2 separate regions of the Homo sapiens genome follow, and region 2 is linked to region 1. The links are contacts of gene promoters, found by promoter capture Hi-C in blood cells and fetal thymus (Javierre and others, 2016). All regions are on one chromosome and are shown on one strand. The core of a region is centred on a gene start or on the middle of the fragment in contact, and the rest is flanking DNA. Distances in the headings are between cores, read along the strand shown.

Region 1 (2,833 bases), core at 63-2,562:
TGGCCAACATGGTAAAACCCCATCTATACTAAAAAAAAATACAACAACAAAAAAAGGCCAGGCACGGTGGCTCACGCCTGTAATCCCAGCACTTTGGGAGGCCGAGGTGGGCAGATCACCTGAGGTCAGAAGTTCGAGATCAGCCTGACCAACATGGAGAAACCCCGTCTCTACTAAAAATACAAAATTAGCCGGCCATGGTGGCACATGCCTGTAATCCCAGCTACTCAGGAAGCTGAGGCAGGAGAATCGCTTGGACCCGGGAGGCGGAGGTTGTGGTGAGCCAAGATTGTGCCATTGCATTCCAGCCTGGGCAACAAGAGCTAAACTCAGTCTCAAAAAAAAAAAAAAAAAATTAGCCGGGCATGGTGGTACACGCCTGTAATCGCAGCTACTTGGGAGGCTGAGGCGGGAGGTTGCTTGAATCCCAGAGTTTGAGAATGCAGTGAGCTGTGATTGTGCCACTGTGCTTCAGCCTGGGCGACAGAGTGAGACCCCGTCTCTTAAAAAAAAAAAAAAAAAGGGCTGGGCACGGTGGCTCATGCCTGTAATCCTAGCAGTTTGGGAGGCCGAGGCGGGTGGATCACTTGAGGTCAGGAGTTCGAGACCAGCCTGGCCAACATGGTGAAACCCTGTCTCTGCTAAAAAATACAAAAATTAGCCAGGCCTGGTAGCGGGCGCCAGCTACTCGGGAGGCTGAGGCAGGAGAATTACTTGAACCCGGGAGGCAGAGGTTGCAGTGAGCCAAGATTGCATCACTGCGCTCCAGTCTGGGTGACAGAGCAAGACTCCGTCTCAAAAAAAAAAAAGAATAAAAGAAAGAAAAAGAAATCCATAATAGAAATGCTAGAAGGTTAGAAGGTTTCAGTCATGTCCCCAAAAGGCCCCAGTCTGGGTGAGACAGAGGACAGAGGAGGACGAGGACAGAGAACAAGGACATCCCCAGCCCTGTGGGTTCAGGGATCGGAGGGAGGTGGGAGAAATTGGTGCTCCCAGAGGGGACAACCTGGCTGGACGAGGGGCAGAGGGAGTGACAGCAGGGGTTTGGGCAGCTGTGGAACCAGGAGCAGGGGGAAAGAGGACGGCAGGGGCAGGGTGTCTTTAGTGGATGACTGGCTTTGAGAGCTTCTGGGTCGTCGTGTTTAGAAGGGGTGGAGTCCAGGTGAAGAGGGCGAGAACCGCACCCGGGGGAACAGGAGCGCCCCAGGGAGGTCCCACACCCTGCAGCCCCACCTGCGCCTTGCCCCTGCACAGCCCCGCGCTCCGCCAGCAGGGAGCGCACACGCAGGTGCAAGGAGCTGGCACCTGGGCACACACCTGGCCACACACCTGTGCAGAGCCGGTGGCAGGCCCTCCCGGCGCAGGAATGGCGTGCCCCCAGCTGCCGCCACTTCTGCTTTTGGTGCTGGTGGTGCTGCTGAAAGCTGGTGTGAATTACAATACTCCCTTTACAGGTAAGAGCTGGTAAAGAGGCTCAGCTTCCAGAAAGCGGAAGGGTGGGGGTGGGGGACGCACAGCCCAGTCACACACCTGGCTTCTGGACCCCTCCCTCAGGCCACGCTGGTCCGCCAACCCTCCGAGGAAGGCTGGGTTTTCCCCCAGAAACAAACGGAGCAGCTGTGAGGACAGATGAGGCACCGCTGCTCCCAAGCCCTGGGGCTGTGGGTCCTGCAACTCCAGTGAGCCCTGAACCTGCTGGAGGCCACAGATGGCCTCACACCTACTTTTGGGCTCCTTTTCAAATCTGTTGCTTTTAGCCAATCCCCAAAGGGAGAATGGTGAAGACCTCAGGGCCATGGGGGTTCCAGGGAACAGGGACTCACTTCCTGGTCATCAAACATCTGTGGTTCCCATGAGAAGTTCTTCTGGGTGTCTGACTTAATTCCCTCTTGCTCTCCTATAAGACAGTGCCTAGGGTGGAGGGGAGGAGCCTTGAGCTTCTCGCATTCCCTTTTTCTGCCCTTTACCTGCCACTATGTTGTCACTCTCTCTGACCGGTGTCCTACCCCACAGACCTGTAATAGCAGAGCAGAGGCCACCATGGCTGCTGAAATGCTCATTGCAGGGAAGGGTTTCATTCAGAAGGCACCACTTTTATCCCCATTTCATAGCTCAGGAAACTGAGGCTCAGTCCAGCTTGTCCCAGACCCAGATTAGAACTGGTTGACTTGGCTCATGTGAGCCTCCCAGTCTAGGAGTCTCTGGGGAGAGCAAACACCCAGCACAGTGCCTAGAAACATCTTTATTTTTACCTTCTGGTCAACCCTTCAGCAGCTCACCAGTGCCTACTCAGTGCCAGGCACTCAACAGGGCTTGTGTCCTCCAACTCTTCCTTTTTCAAGTCCACAGCTTTTCCTCAGTTCACTAAGCACTCAGCTCCCCAGAATTCTGACTTGGCTTGGGGTCCACTCTGGCCTCTGAATCATCTTCATTTCAGCAGAAACAGAGGACAAGGGTCCTTGAGGGGCGTTCTTCCCAGCTCCCCAGTCACCTCAGGCCAGACCCTCTGCTACTCTGAGCCTCAGTTTCTCATCTGTCAAATGGGGATGAAGCCCAGCCTGAGTTCCATGCCTCTTCTAGACTCAGCCGTCATCCCCACAGGGCCTGGGGGGCTACATAGAGATCTGGGGAGGGTGGCATGTGGACCCAGCCCCCTCTCAGGGCCAGTGTTGTGTGTTATTTCCGCATTTCTGCTGCCTAGGGTGAGTCAAGGAGGAAGCACAAAGTTTGGCCCAGAGCAGAGTGCATGGGTGGAGCAGAGAGTTGATGAATGAACTTGTAAGTGCCTAAGAGGCCCAGTCACCTGGAACTGGGTGGGAAGTCGTTGTGGGAG
Region 2 (3,142 bases), core at 333-2,832, 300 kb after region 1:
GCGTGGTGGCGGGCGCCTGTAGTCCCAGCTACTCGGGAGGCTGAGGCAGGAGAGTGGCGTGAACCTGGGAGGCAGAACTTGCAGTGAGCCGAGATCGCGCCACTGCACTCCAGCCTGGGCGACGAGGCAAGACTCCGTCTCATAAATAAATAAATAAATAAATAAATACAATTGAAAATATAAATAAATAAAATAAAAATTAGCCGGGCACGGTGGCAGGCACCTATCTATAGTCCCAAGCTACCCAGGAGGTTAAGGCACGAGAATCACTTGAGCCTGGGAGGTGGAGGTTGCAGTGAGCTGAGATTGCATCACTGCACTGTAGCCTGGATGACAGAGTGAGACCCTGTATCAAAAAAAAAAAAAAAAAAAAAAAGAGACAGGGTCTCCTGTTGTCTCGCAGCAGTTTGGAGTGCAGTGGTGCAGTCAGAGCTCACTGCAGCCTCGATCTCCTGTCCTCAAGTGATCCTCCCACCTCAGCCTCCTGAGTAGCTGGGGCTACGTGTGTGCTACCATGCCTAGCTATTTTTTTTCCTTTTGTAGAGATGGGGTCTTGCCATGTTGCTGAGGCTGTTCTTGAACTCCTGTCCTCAAGTGATCCTCATACCTTGGCCTCCCAAAGTGCTGGGATTACAGGGATCTTTCTTGGTTACAAATCTGATTATACTGCCCCAGATTCTGGGTGCTCAGTGATCCCCTGGCATTTGAGCAGTTAGATCCCACATGACCCCAGCCTTATCTGCTGGCAAGCTTCTACTTGACCTTCCAGGCTCAGCCCAAAGAGCACCTCCTCCAGGATGCCTTCCCAGGTTTCCCCAAGCACAATGAGTGCTCCCTTCTCTCACAGTAGCTACTTGGCATGAGATGGAAACCTGGCCACATTTCATCCTCCATCCCCAACCCAGTCCCAGAATGTGCCCACTTTTTTCCATCTGAGGCTCTACCCTGGTACCAACCCAGCTGAAACCACCAGACATCTCCTGGGCCTCCACTCTGGGCTCCTGCCACCTCCACTCCTGCCCTGCTCTCCACAGCAGCCACAGGGCTTCTGAAAATCCTAACTGAGACCATGCCTCTCCCCTGCTCACACACCTGCCATGGTTCCCCATTGCTCTGAAGTCCACACCCTCACTGCAGCCGCTGAGTTCCTTGTAGCTTGGCTCCTACCTGCCGATCTTGCCTTCATCTTCCTCCTCTCTCCCACTCACTCTGTTCCAGCCACAGCAGCCTCCTCACTGTTCCTCAAACACGCCAAGCTCATTCCCACCTCAGGACCTTTGCACATGTGGTTCCCTCTGCTGGGTATGCTGTTCCCCCAGCTGTCAGCAGGCCAGTTCCTCCTCTTCCTTCAAGTCTCAGCTCATGATCACTGCCCTAGAGAGGCCTCTCTGACTTTTACAAGAGGCTTCCCTGCTCCTCTGGTCACTAATACATCCTCATATTCTATTTTCTTCCTAATACAAAACAATTTTCTTCCTTCCCTCCCTCCCTTCCTCTTTCTTCTTTCTTTTCTTCCTTCCTTCTTTCCTTCCTTCTTTTTTTCTCTCTCCCTCCCTCCTACCCTCCCTCTCTCTCTTCTCCCTTTCCCTTTCCCCTTTCCCTTTCCCTTTCCCCTTCCCCACCATCCCCTCCCCTCCCCTCCCCTCTCCTCTCCTCCCCTCTCCTCCCCTCTCCTCTCCTCCCCTCTCCTCTCCTTTTTTTCTCTCTCTCCCTCCATCCTTTCCTTCCTTCCTTCCTCCCTCCCTCTGTCCCTCCCTCCCTCCCTTTCTCTGTTTTTTGTTTTTTTGTTTTGTTTTGTTTTGTTTTTTGAGACAGTCTCGCTTTGTCGCCAGGCTGGAGTGCAGTGCTGCAATTTCGGCTCACTGCAACCTCCAACTCCCTGGTTCAAGCGATTCTCCTGCCTGCCTCAGCCTCCTGAGTAGCTAGGATTACAGGCACTCCCGACATCACCCCTGGCTAATTTTTTGTATTTAGTAGAGACGGGGTTTCACCATGCAGGATGGTCTCTATCCCCAGACCTCATTATCCGCCCACCTCGGCCTCCCAAAGTGCTGGGATTACAGGCATGAGCCACCACACCTGGCCCCCTTTCTCTCTTTCTCGCTTTCTTTCTGAGACAGAGTCTCACTGTCACCCAGACTACAGTACAGTGGTTCAATCATAGCCCACTGTATCCTCGACCTCTTGGGCTCAAGTGATCCCCCCATCTCAGCCTCCAGAGTAGCTGGGACCACACACATGCACCACCCCACTGGTTAATTTAAAAAAAAAAAAATTGTAGAGATGGGTTCTTGCTACATTGCCCAGGCTGGTCTCAAGCTCCTGAGCTCAAGTGATCCTCCTGTCTTGGCCTCCCAAAGTTCTGGGATCACAGGCATCAGCCACTGTATCCAGCACAAAACACTTAAGCTTAATTGATGCCCCATGAAATTCCACAAGGGCTGACCTGGGCTGGCCTTTGTCCTTATTGCATCCCAGCATCCAGCCTAGGGCCTGGCAGACAGTAGCTAGCTTGCTCAGTGTTTGTTGATTGACTAAATGACCACCACCTCTGTTTTCTCCACACCCCCATGGGCAGCTTAGTGCTGACCCTGGATGTCAGTCAGTGTTCACCAAGGAGGCCTGGCTCAGTGGCTCACGCCTGCAATCCCAGCACTTTGGGAGGCCAAGACAGGTGGATCACCTGAGGTCAGGAGTTCGAGACCAGCCCGGCCAACATGGGGAAACCCCATCTCTACTGAAAACACAAAAATTAGCTGTGCGTGGTGACGCATGCCTGTAATCCCAGCTACTTGGGAGGCTGAAGCAGGAGAATCGCTTGAACCCGGTGGGGTGGAGGGTGGAGGTTGCAGTGAGCCAAGATCATGCCACTGCGCTCCAGCCTGGGCGACAGAGTCAGACTCTGTCTCAAAACAAACAAACAAAACAAAACAAAACAAAACTAAAAAAAAAAAGTTCACTGGAGAAAGGAGCACAGGAGCTGCCTTCCACAGAGCTGGCCTACCCTGGGGGCTGTCTCCAGCGAGACCACGAGAGCCGGGAAGTAGAGGCTGTGTGTGGGGGGCGGGGGCGGGAGTGGTGGGACAGAGCTCTTCCAACCTGGCTCAACACCCCACTTCTAGGTCATCTGGCCTCTCTGAAT

What was found. The method cuts DNA at HindIII sites, captures the fragments that hold promoters and counts their contacts. A CHiCAGO score of 5 or more calls a contact.
Region 2: a fragment that was not itself captured here is called in contact with the fragment with the promoter of CIST1 in region 1 in 3 of 17 cell types (naive B cells, neutrophils and total B cells); the score reaches 5.4 in naive B cells.

Annotation. Positions count from the first base shown.
Region 1 is chr19:18,253,841-18,256,673 of GRCh38, reverse strand. CIST1 (colon, intestine and stomach enriched 1) reads left to right here and starts at 1,312. Exons shown (of 4, transcript NM_001396036.2): 1 at 1,312-1,454. The coding sequence starts at 1,367. It also overlaps a transcript of PDE4C not described here. The HindIII fragment of the contact is 13,123 bases long and covers 1-2,833 here.
Region 2 is chr19:17,955,715-17,958,856 of GRCh38, reverse strand. It overlaps a transcript of KCNN1 not described here. Among named protein-coding and RNA genes, the nearest start is that of KCNN1, 9.8 kb to the left of the region's middle. The HindIII fragment of the contact is 1,659 bases long and covers 753-2,411 here.